Regions from separate parts of the Homo sapiens genome. Here region 1 is linked to region 2. The links are contacts of gene promoters, found by promoter capture Hi-C in blood cells and fetal thymus (Javierre and others, 2016). All regions are on one chromosome and are shown on one strand. Each heading gives the region's core, a stretch centred on a gene start or on the middle of the fragment in contact. The rest is flanking DNA. Distances are from core to core; before and after follow the strand shown.

Region 1 (5,958 bases), core at 655-3,154, 630 kb before region 2:
TCCGGGGTTCAGGCAATTCTCCTGCCTCAGGCTCCGGAGTAGCTGGAATTACAGGCCTGCACCACCACGCCTGGCTAATTTTTGTATTTTTGGTAGAGACGGGGTTTGGCCATGTTGGCTAGGCTGTTCTCGAACTCCTAAACTCATGTTATCCACCCCCCCTCGGCCTCCCAAAGTGCTGGGATTACAGGTGTGAGCCACCGCAACTGGCCCATTGGCCTTTCTTGTTGTACTGTTCTGTCCCTTCCAGGTAAGACAGGTACATTTTCTAGTAGTAAGCTCCTGTGTCTTAAAAAAGAAAATAACATTCATTGAGTGCTTACTTTATGCCAGGCACTGTGCTATGGGCTTTATATAAATAATTTCCTCTCTGAAAAAAACAAAGACAACAAAAAAAATTACTTCTTTGATTCTTTTCTAAAAGTTCCTTGAAATTGCCATGGACCCTCCCATTCGTGCAGGTGGGGAGAAAGAAGCTCAGAGTCGTTGAGTACTTGGCCCAGTGAGTAAATGGTGGAGCCAGGATTTGTGAACAGTTTTGTGGACTCAGAAGCTTCCATCCCTTACAGGGGTGGTGAAGAAGGCCTTTCCGAGAGGCCCGAGAGGCCCCAAGGCAGAACCATCCAGCCAAGCCCACCCCAAATTCCTGTCCCACAGAAACCAAGAGAGATAATAAAAAGACGGTTGCAGGGTTGTCTCGCCCCTCCTCTGTCTCTTGCCTGCTCTCTCTAAGGAATTCAGAGCCTTCCCATCTTGAATACCAGCGGCAGCTCCAGAATTTCCCCGTGGGACAGGCTTACTGAGAGCCGTCTTGTGAAGGGGGTAGCCCTGGACTTGCCTGGGAGCTGTGTCTGTGTAGCAGGTACTCTGCTTTCAGGAGGATGCAGGTTTTGTTGGGGGAGAGTGTTCCAGGGACTGTGAGGGGACTGAGCCTGCTCCTGAAGCCATCTCCTTTTTATTTAATTTTATTTTTTTGAGACAGAGTCTCGCTGTGTTGCCTAGGCTGGAGTGCAGTGGCAAGATCTTGGCTCACTGCAACCTCCATCTCCCGGTTCAAATGATTCTCCTGCCTCAGCCTCCCGAGTAGCTGGGATTACAGGTGCCCGCCACCATGCCTGGCAAATTGTTGTATTTTTAGTAGAGATGAGGTTTCACCATGTTGGTCAGGCTGGTCTTGAACTCCTGACCTCAGGTGATCCACCTGACTTGGCCTTCGAAAGTGCTGGGATTACAGGCATGAGCCACTGCGCCCGAAGCCATCTCTTGGTAAAATACTGCTGAGCATTCAGACAGAACAGAATTAGGAGAAAGAGAAGGAACCAGCATTGATTTCTTCAACACACTGTGCTAGGTACCTCAGGCATTTCGATTATTCTAGGCTGTGAGTGAAGAGTTGTTGCCAGAATCTAAAGTGTGTTCTGAGAACTTGGCCAAATGTAGGGTGACCATATGACTTACCATTCAAATTTGGGACACTTTGGGGGTGACGAAGGGATTACTATCAATAATTATGCCCTGGGATTGTCTCACTTAAACTGGGAGGTATGGTCACCCTAGGCAGAAGGGAAGTAAAATGGTCCTCTGTTACTGATTATCTGTTGCTGTGTAACCAATCACACCAAAATTTAGTGGTTTAAAACAACAACAGTCTTTTTATTATATCTCTTAGTTTCTGTGGGTCAGGAATTGGGAGAGGGCTTGGCTGGGTGGTTCTGACCTGGGGTCTCTCATGCATTATAGTTTGGTGTGGGTGGAGCTTCTGTTTTTCTCTCTCTCCATTTAGCCTCAGGGTCATTCTGTAGTGAGTCCATGTGGGGAGTTCAGAGCAAGTATTCTGGCGAACAAGCTGGAAGCCATGCTGCCTTCTGTGATCTAGCCTCCGAAGTTATACAGCATCTCTCCCATCCCCGTAACTTGTTGGTTCCAAGTGAGTCACAAGCCTGCCTAGAGTCAAGGGCGAGGGAGGACAGAGACTGAATTTCTTGCTGGGTAAGGCACAAAGTTATGGAACAAGTATGTGGAGTGGGAGGTATTGTCGTGGCCATCTTAGGGGTATGAACTCTGCCATGGATGCAGACTGGCCTTTTCTAAGAGTCATCAGTTTGGTTATCTGCAAACATGACTGAAGAGTGTGGGGTACATCAATGCCAGGCAAAGTTTCTGAAGGAGTCTGGCTCAGAGGGGGAGGCCTGGAATACGATCCTAGTTTACCAAGGGGAACCTGGTCAGTTACCTTGCAACTTTGGAGAAAGAGTGAATGGAAGTGTCCCTCAGTAGGGGACATTTAGGAAGGGGATGGTCACAGAGCCAGGGCTGGCATTGTCCAGGGCACAGGTTCTTGGTTGCGCTGGCTCAAGCATCATCCCCATTCCCCGGGTAAGACTGTCCTCCCAAAACAGAGGTGGCTTCAAGCTGCTCTGTGATAAACACTTTTTTTTTTTTTTTTTTTTGAGATGGAGTCTGGCTGTGTCACCCAGGCTGGAGTGCAGTGGTGCAATCTTGGCTCACTGCAACCTCTGCCTCCCAGGTTCAAGTGATTCTTATGCCTCAGCCTCCCTAGTAGCTGGGATTACAGGTGCCTGCCACCATGCCTGGCTAATTTTTGTATTTTTAGTAGAGATGGGGTTTCACCACGTTGGTCAGGCTGGTCTCGAATTCCTGACCTCATGATCCGCCCGCCTCGGCCTCCCAAAGTGCTGGGATTACAGGCGTGAGCCACCGTGCCTGGCCGATAAATGCTTCTTAATGCTGTTGTTTATTCTGACTCCCTGCCACCAAGCAGTGCTGTGACACCGTGGATCCTCATGGAACTTGTGCTGTAGGGAAGCACGTGCTGGTTAGGCTGATGGAAGTGCTCCATTCTGCTGGTGGGGTATTTACTGTGCTCTCCAATAATAAATGGATCTTCTGCTATGCGTCAGCCTTGTAAGTTTGGTCAAAGGGAGTCTGCCACCGCCTTGTGTGCAGAAAGATCCCGGATATCCTGTGGTGGATTCACCTCATTGGGACCGGTCAGTGTGGCCAACCTCTCTTCCAGAGTGGCAACTTGCGTTTCCTTGCTTATCTTTTAAGAAGCACCATAGGAATCATCACCCCATTTTATAGACGAGAACACTGAGGCTCAGAGAGGAGGAATGTCTTGCCCCAGGTGAGCCAGCTGGTCAGGGTGCATTTGGAATGGAAACCCAGGTGTGGCTGAAACCAAAGCTGGCACTCTCCATGCACAATTCCAAAACCCACAAAGCTCTGAAAATCTAAAGCTTTTTCATGAGATTGGGGCAAGCATTTGATGGCAAACCTGATATGAATTGGATGTGAGGTTATTTATAGTCTTTATTTTGTCCCACTTAGCGTGAATATTTATACATTTTGCTGCAGAAAAATTAAAGGGTTTATGGAATATTGCTCCAGAGCTCACTGGCATGTCACCTGATATGCGGTAGATCCACTCGAAAACCTTTCAGGAATCCAAAGAATTCCAAGTTATAAAGCACATTGAGGCCGGATGTGGTGGCTTCAGACCTGTAATCCCAGCACTTTGGGAGCCCAAGGCGGGCAGCTCACCAGAAGTCAGTAGTTTGAGACCAGCCTGGGTGAAACCTCATCTCTACTAAAATACAAAAATTAGCCAGGCGTGGTGGTGGGTCCCTGTAATCCCAGCTACTGGGGGAGGCTGAGGCATGAGAATCGCTTGAACCCAGGAGGTGGAGGTTACAGTGAGCCAAAATCGGGCCACTGCACTCCAGCCTGGCCGACAGAGTGAAACTGTGTCTCAAAATAAATAAAATATAAAATAAAATACATAAATTGATAAAGCACATTGAGCCGCGAGGATTTCAGATAAGAAATTGTGGAGCTGTGCTACCTGTACCAAACTTTTCTGTCTCGGTTAGGCAGAGATCACTACCCCCATTCTGCAGATGAGGAAGACTGAGGGCAAGGAACATGGTGTCCCAGGTAGGACGGCAGCCATTTTATCATCCTGTTGGAGGCTGTGCCAGCAGGAAAGGAAGCTTTGGAGCCACCAGCCCACCCCAGCCTCCCAAGAACCTTGTTGTCTCAGCAAAATTTCAGAACTAGAAAACCTGGAAAGATTAAAGCCCCAAAGAATGCCACAAGTCCCCCAGGAAGAAAGGGAGGCTTTGCTGTGCGTTCCAGTGGTCGACATTCTAAATCATTTTTTATTTCAGCTGCATGTACACTCACCCATCACAGGACCAGTTCTCAGAATAGAGAGGTACCTGTTGAATCATCCACCCTACTTCCTGCCTCGTGTGGGCATGTCTCCAAGTGCTGAGCCATCCGCTTCGCTGCCGTGGCCTGAGATATATCAGGATTTGCAGGCCTGGCGACAGGAGACAAAATAGATTCCCATTTCCTTCAGAACCATTTAGCTAGTTTAGAGAGTGTTTGACTGTTTCAATGGGATGAGCAATAACCAGGCCTCTCCTTGGCTCCTTCTCTCTGCCCCATATGTTTTCTTCTGTTGGAAGCTGGGATTTGGGGTCTTAGGGCCAAAGATAAATACTGATTTTGGCTCGATCTGGCCGCACAGCTGTGGGCTAGTAGGTGCCCCTCTCTGAACCTCAGGCCCCCACTTTCTGCAGCACAGTGTTGTTCTCATCTCTGTTTTTTTTTTTTTTTTTTTTTTTTGAGATGGAGTCTCTCTCTGTTGCCTAGGCTGGAGTGCAGTGGTGCGATTTCAGCTCACCGCAACCTCCATCTCCTGGGTTCAAGCAATTCTCCCCACCTCAGCCTCCCGAGTAGCTGGGATTGCAGGTGCCTGCCACCAGGCCCAGCGGATTTTTGTGTTTTTTAGTAGAGACAGAGTTTCACCATGTTGGCCAGGCTGGTCTCGAACTCCTGACCTCAGGTGATCCGCCCTCCTCAGCCTCCCAAAATGCTGAGATGACAGGCATGAGCCACCGCATCCGGTCTCTCATCTCTTCATACCACATGCCTTGGTTCCCACTGCCCCGGCGGGTGCCTGGAGAGCCTTGTGGCTGGGGCTGAGTGACCGCAAGGTGATATTTAAGGTGGTCTCATGGAGCAGTCTGACATCACTGTAATGCAAGCAGACATCTGGGGAGTCAGACTGACTGAATTTGAATTCCAGCGATTTAAATTTTTACCACTGTTGTGTGACCTTGGGCAAGTTGTGTGACCATTTGAGCCATAGCTTCTTCATCTGTAAAATAGATGGAATCATAGCATGTACCACTTCGGGAGGGAGGGAGAATAGAATTAGGTCAGATTTTATATGTGACATGCTTAAGGCAGTGCCTGGCATGCAAATAAGCCCTTGATACATGCCAGTGGGGTTACTCTGGTTACCAGAAACTTGGAAGTAGGGGCTTTGGCTGGGGCAAGATCTCGCAACATTTAAAAAGCAATCACTGACCGGGCACCGTGGCTCATGTCTGTAATCCCAGCACTTTGGGAGGCCGAGGCAGGTGGATCACGAGGTCAGAAGATCGAGACCATCCTGGCTAACACGGTGAAACCTCGTCTCTACTAAAAATACAAAAAATTAGCCGGGTGTGGTGGTGGGCGCCTGTAGTCCCAGCTACTCGGGAGGCTGAGGCAGGAGAATGGCATGAACCCGGGAGGCGAAGCTTGCAATGAGCCAAGATCATGCCACTGCACTCCAGCCTGGGTGACAGAGAGAGACTCCGTCTCAAAAAAAAAAAAAATAAATAAATAAAAAGCAATCACTGGTCACTCGTGAGGAACCAGGCCCCGAGTTGGTCACTCAGCGTTCAGGTGGAGACCTTGCCATGCTATCAAGTAACCTAGAGTCTATTTTTTTTTTTAAGATGGAGTTTCACTCTGTCGCCCAGGCTGGAGTGCAATGGCACGATCTTGGCTCACTGCAACCTCTGCCTCCCATGTTCAAACGATTCTCCTGCCTCAGCCTCCCGAATAGCTGGGATTACAGGCACCCGCCACCACACCCGG
Region 2 (6,586 bases), core at 66-2,565:
AGCGTTTGTCAAGCGTCTGTATTATCCTGGCTCAGGGCTGGGAGTTATAGCAGCCACAAAAGATGCCCAAGACTCCACCCAGCCCTCAAGGAGCCCAGAGTTTAGCTGCAGGGACAGGAAATAGGCATGGGAACGAATGCAATATAATCACAGCTAAAGTTTGTATGAGATGTGCAGATGCTCCTGGGCAGCTGCCTCTTCAGGGCAGGCTTCATGGAGAAGAGGGCTTTTTTTAAAAATTTAATTTAATTTAATTTAATTTAATTTTATTATTGTTTGTGGGGTTGGGGGAGGAGGGGAGAAGAGGGCTTTGAGCCAGGCCTACCCAGGGCAAGTGCCAGAAGGACAGAGGCGGGGAGGACACAGGTGCAGACCGGCCTAAAGCAGACACTTGGAGCTGAAAACATCCTGAATCCAACCGTCCACAACTCCCCTCTACAGCATCTCCTCAAGAGGGCCAGACTCCCCTGAATTCTCCCTACGGCAAGGAAGTCATTCCTCGCCAGGGGAGCGAGATCATGGCCTGTCTGGTGTGCACGTGTGTGTGTCTTTGCCACAGGTGTGTTCTTTCCAGAACTCCTGTGAACAGGTGGGCCTCCTTTGTGCAAACCTGAGCCATGCACATCCAGCTCAGCTGATAGCTGGGCCAGGAGAGGTGACCTCACCGCCCATGCTCAAGGTCTCTCTGTTGCACTGGACAGGGCCCCTCCAGCCTTAGGCCCTTGAAGTCCTGGCTCCTTGGAAATGCCCCTGCTACTGGGGGGACCCTCAACTGCACCAAAGGACCGCAATGGAAAGGGGGCACTCAGCGCCAGAGCCTCCCCGCCCCCCCACCTCCTGCCGAGAGGAAGCCCAAAACTGGCACATCCACACACACAGCCACACGCCCCCTTTGAAGGCACTGCACCGCTGCGTGTGTTGTACACGGAGCCTGCGCTTCCTGGGCCAGAAGTGAAGCTAAGATGCACTCCACGCATTCAACCGTTGAACCCTCATTGCAGCCACCAGAGTTCTGTGCCACCCCTGCTCCGTTCCCGCGGTGGAGGGAGGACGCCTAGGCCTTGGGAGGGATCGGGAGCGCGTAGAGTGACACCCTGGGCTCCACATCCACGACACCTTCTCCCCCATCTGGACTGCCCAACTACTTCATGCCTACCTCGGGACTTTGCATGCAAAAGGCGCTCAATCATCCCTTCAAGAATAATTGAGTTAGAAAACAGCAGGGCACAATGACAGGTGGGCCCAGAAGTTGCCACCAGAGGGCAGTGCGCGCACCTCCCCAGCCTCCTCGAGACTTGTGCTGCAGGAGGGAGGTGAAGTCGCGGCCAGGAGCGTGACCACGCTGGACCGTGTCTGCTGCCTCCCCGGGAGTCGCAAGTGCCCACAGGACAAGCAGGGGAAGCAAACTGGGCCCCTGGCTTCTGGGAAGACAGCATGAGGGCAGACCAAGGAAAGGCAGCCGAGACCAGCAGACCTGCAAGGGATCTCGGAGGCTCTCAGGCCCAGCTGCTTGCTGAATAGGTAATGATGCATCTGGGCCCAGAGAGAGGCAGCTCTCAGCCTTAGGTCACACAGCAGGGCAGGAGTGTGAACTCTGGCCTCCAGCCTCCGAGGTCCCCTCATCCCACCTAACCCCCAGACTCAGAGAAGGACACTCCACCCAAGCAATTTCTCACCTTCCCCTTAATTGGTACAGATCAGAAACGGGAGCACCTCCTTCTCCTGGCCCCCACGTTTAGGGTTCCCAGGACAGCCTCCGACCCACCCTCTGCCCCTCCTGTATCCCTTTCCTCGGCCCTGGGTGACAGCACCCCTGCCCAGACCAGCTCTGACTGCCTCCAAGTGCCAAGCGCTCACAGTCCTCTACCCCCAGCCCCAGCCGGCACCCTCAGTCTCGTCCCACCATCTCTCTGCCTCCTGAGTCCCTCCCTGAGTCCCATGCCCTCTGCCCCAGCGACTGCCCTTGTAAAGTGAAAATCCGACCCCACCCAACATTTCCTGCTGCACTTATGCAGTATCCAGGCCTCCTCGCCATGGAAAGCCCAGGCCTGCGGCCTCTCTGGCTTCTTCTCTCCCTTGCCCCACTGCCCCTGGCTGTCTGGCAGTTCCTGGAAGTCTCCAAGCTCTTCCCTGCCTCGAGCCCCTGCCCACGTTCTCTCTGCCCCAGGCCTCAGCCTGCGGTCACTTTCTCAGGGCAGCTTTCCCAGCACCCCGTGCATCTAAAGTGGATGCTGCCCTGCCCATCACTGGATCAGGTGCTCATATTCCTAATTGACTGGGCATAGGTGGGAGGATTTGCCTGGTGTCTGTCTTCCTGGCTGGACTGCGGTGCCTCAAGGCCACAGGTGAAGTGCATGGAGTCCCACAGCTTCTCTGAGCCTAAAGCTTTGTGTGACAAATGCATTCAAACTGCATTTATTGAAAGATGGGAAGCAAGGGAGGAAGGGAAGGGGTGCGGGAGGGAGGGAGGACAATCTTGGTGTTGGGCTGAGGTGGCGTCTGTCCCCTTTGCATGAGTTCAGTAAGGATTTACTGAGCACCTGCTGGCAGCAGCATGCTGGGCACTGTGGGAATGACAAGGATGTGTGGGATTTGAACTCTAACTCAGAGTACCTTCTCTTGGTATGGAGGTAGGACAAGTATGCAAATGATTATAACTAAGGAAATCGTGTCAATGTGGTGACCCTTGGCCTGAACTTTCAGAACAGTCCTGGTATCACGTGAGAAGAGTAAATACATGTGATTTGATTCTAAACTGGCTAAGACGTTATTAAAGAAAGTAACAAGACAGAAAAAATACTTTTTCAGGCTGTCTGTGCAGTTTTGTCTTTAGAAAATGTGGTCATAATGAGTATGAGAGGCATAGAGCGTGCCCAGTTTGAAACGCCTGCAAATGACAAAACACAAAAACACAAACCCAAAAATAGAACGTGGCTTGGCTGGAGCCATAGGGGAGGCTCCAGAGGATGTGGCATCGGTGCTGTGGGCAGTGGGTCATTGTGCAAAGGCAGTGAGGGCTGGGTCCCCATCCCACCTTGGCCACTTCCTAGCTGTGTGATCTTGGATAAGTTCCTTTACCTCTCTGAGCCTGTTTCTGCATCTGAAACATGCGACTACTCCCCACCTCTTAGGTTCATGGGGATGGCATGAGATTGTGCACACAGAGAAGCCATCACCCACAGTTCCTGGCATGCAGGAGGCACCTGAGGAAGGCTGGGTTCTTCCTCTTCTCTGGGAGGATGGGGATGAGTGTTCCATAGGCCGGAATGGGTCGAGAGAAAGGGCCCAAGACAGAGGGAGCTGCAAGAGCCAAGGCACAGACTAGGTGGCTGAAGGCAGTTGGGGAACAACAATTATCACCAGAGCCTAATATTTCCCCAGCTCCATCTCCTTCCCTCCACGCCCAGTGCCAGAGGGGCACTGCTTATATAGGGGTTCTGCTTACAGAGGGGTTCTTGCTTACAGAGGGGTTCTGTTTACAGAGGGATGCTGTTTACAGAGGGGTTATTGCTTACAGAGGGGTTCTCGCTTACAGAGGGGTCCTTGTTTACAGAGGGATGCTGTTTACAGAGGGGTTCTTGTTTACAGAGGAGTTCTGTTTACAGAAGGGTTCTTGTTTTCAGAGGGGTTCTTGCTTACAGAGGGGTTCTGTTTACAGAAGGATTCTTGTTTTCAGAGGGGTTCTTGCTTACAGATGGATTCTGTTTACAGAGGGGTTCTTGCTTACAGAGAGGGGTTCTTACTTACAGAGGGGTTCTGTTTACAGAGGGGTTCCTGTTTTCAGAGGGGTTCTTGCTTACAGAGGGGTTCTGTTTACAGAGGGGTTCTTGCTTACAGATGGATTCTGTTTACAGAGGGGTTCTTGTTTACACGTTTACAGAGGGGTTCTTGTTTACAGAGGGGTTCTTGCTTACACAGGGGTTCTGTTTACAGAGGGATTCTGTTTACAGAGGGTTCTTGCTTACACAGGGGTTCTGTTTACAGAGGGGTTCATATTTGTTAGCGGGACGCTGCCATGTCATCCTTCACTCTGCATCCAGAGCATCCTTGCACACAACTCTTCAGGGGCTCCCCACTGCCCTCAAGACCCTATCCAAGCATCCTGAGTCTGGCTTCAAGGCTGTCCCTAACTGGGCCCCCTCTTGAAGATCCCCCTTTGCATCCAATCCTCTGGCCACACAGAACGCAGAATCGCTTGCATGCCTCCCCCTCCTCCCAGGGTTTGCCCCCTCCCTGCCCTGCATGTGGCATCCTTCCTTTGCCTTCTTATCCCGCGGACTCATCATCCTTCAGGCCCCGGGTTCACATCCTCCGTGAAGCCTCCCAGGCCTTTACCCTTGCTTTCTGATGGGGTTAGGTACCTGCCAGAGGCCTTCCTTCTCTCCCCAACTAAAGTGGGTGCTCCCCAAGGGCAGGAACTGAATCCCATTCATTCTGCATTTCTTTATGCTGCCTGGTATGTGCCTGGAGCATAGGAGGTGCTTAGTCATTGTGATGTGGATAGAAGGGTGGTTAATGGGTGAATGGAAAATGGACTGATGGATGAACAGAAGAAGGATGAATGGGGGGATCATGGAGGGAATGATGGAGGGAGAGAAGGAATGATGGGGGAGAAGGAAGGAAGGATGGGGGAGAAGGAAGGAAGAATGGATGGATGGATGGATGGATGGATGGATGGATGGATGGATGAAGGGATGAACAGACAGACGGATGGACAGACAGTGGATGTGGATGGACAGAATAATAAGACTCTTTCAGGAAGGCCAGAACACAGCAGAAAGGCCCTGAAGAAAACCAAAGCAGCTGCAGGAAGTTTGGTGTTTGCCAAGGTTGGGGGTGAAATGAGCTACCTGTTTTGCAGAAGAGATGGGGTGTGTTTTAGCAGCTGACATCACAGAAGGTGCAGGTCCCAAGACCTAACAGGAGAGCAGCTGAGAAGAGCAACAGCTCCTCATAGACAGGGATGGACAAGCTAGGCCAGCAGCGGGGGCAGACTCTGCACTGTCCCCGCTGCCCCCAGCCGTGGAGAGATGCGTGTCTGCCACAGGGGAAGCAGCGCCACCCAGGGGCTGGGGTAATGACAGGCGTGGCCTCTTGGGGGTGGACAGTCTAGAACCCAAGCCTCCATCCCTCTCTGTGGAGGCATCATGGGAGTCGACTTGCCCCTTCTGGCCACCTCTCAGTCCCAAGGGTGCCACATTTGGGGTTCTCCACCACGCAGTCACTGCTTGACGTGGCTCATGGCCTCCCAGCCTCACTGCACGGGCCACACACACTTCCCTCAGTTCCTTTCCTCATTGTCTCCGCAAACACACAGATTCCTGCTGCCTTTAAGACTTTACTGCTGATCTCCAAAGAGATGAAGCAATCTCAAAGATAAACATGAAGCAAATCCAAAGAAATCCTGCAAAATTCTGGGAGCGCCTTTCTGTGGTTGGAAGCTGGGCACGTGGTGGGATGATCCTGCCAGCCTGTGGAACTTCCGATATTATGGATGAGGGTGGATTTTACTACCTCCCAAATTCTAGGACTCACGCTCTTTTTTTTGGGTGGGGAGGGGGACAGAGGCTCGCTCTGTTGCCCAGGCTGGAGTGCAGTGGCACAATCTCAGCTCCCTGCAACCTCTGCCTCCCGGGTTCAAGCAATTCTCCTGTCTCAGCCTCCCAAGTAGCTGGGACTACAGGCGCGGCCACCATGCCTGGCTAATTTTTGTGTTTTTAGTAAAGACAGGGTTTCACCATGCTGGCCAGGCTGGTCTCAAACTCCTGACCGCAGGTGATCCACCCACCTCGGCCTCTCAAAGTGCTGGGATTACAGTTGTGAGTCGTCATGCTTGGCCTCACGCTCTTTCATTCAAATAATATTTATTGAGGAGCCCCTATGTGCCAAACCCTTTTTCTAGAGGCTTAGGACACAACAGTGAACAAAACAAAGACGCCTGCCCTTGTGACGCTTACAGTCTAGTGGGGAGTGGGGTGAGAAACAGACAATAAACATAAGGACTAAGTAAGTTTCATAGGAGGTTAAAAGATGAAAAACGCTATCAGAAAAGAAAAAATGGGAGACAGAGAATCAGGAGCACAATTTTAAACAAGGCAGTCAGGGTAGATGGACCTCACCAGAAGGCGATGGGAAAATCTGAAGGAAGGAGGGAGCCAGGCAGAACTGGAGGAAGGATGAAAACTATGGAATGCTTCCTGAATATGCGAGGCAATTTATAACTCCCTGAAATGTGCCACATGATTCCCAATGCATGCCTTTGCCTACGCTAGACTGCAAGCTCCACGTGAGAAGAGACTGCTTGACTTGTTCTCAGAAAGTATTTATGGGATTTATAGATGCAGTTGTACAGAATAGAAAGCTGCTCACAATCCTCTTCTTCACCTTTCCTCCTAGAAAACTCCTACACAGCCTTCAAGACCCAAACACATATGGGCAGAGTTGGTTGCTCCTCCTTTGAGCTCGCTACTCTTGCACCTTATATAAACCTCTTTTATAGCCCCAATACACTGTGTTTCCCTCATTTTACTGCGGGTCAGAGCTTTCCCCTGGGTTGAGAACCCGCAAGGGGATCTGACCTGTCTGA

What was found. Contacts are between HindIII fragments. The CHiCAGO score rates a contact against its expected background, and 5 or more counts as called.
Region 1: a contact is called between a fragment that was not itself captured here and the fragment with the promoter of IL2RB-AS1 in region 2, in 1 of 17 cell types (megakaryocytes). The highest score is 5.5, in megakaryocytes.

What each region holds. Positions count from the first base shown.
Region 1 is chr22:36,537,966-36,543,923 of GRCh38, forward strand. No RefSeq gene overlaps it. Among named protein-coding and RNA genes, the nearest start is that of EIF3D, 12 kb to the left of the region's middle. The HindIII fragment of the contact is 2,707 bases long and covers 552-3,258 here.
Region 2 is chr22:37,165,444-37,172,029 of GRCh38, forward strand. IL2RB-AS1 (IL2RB and C1QTNF6 antisense RNA 1) reads left to right here and starts at 1,316. Exons shown (of 2, transcript NR_199008.1): 1 at 1,316-1,521. It also overlaps a transcript of IL2RB not described here. RefSeq lists enhancers at 1,487-1,536, 2,851-2,910. The HindIII fragment of the contact is 5,870 bases long and covers 1-2,383 here.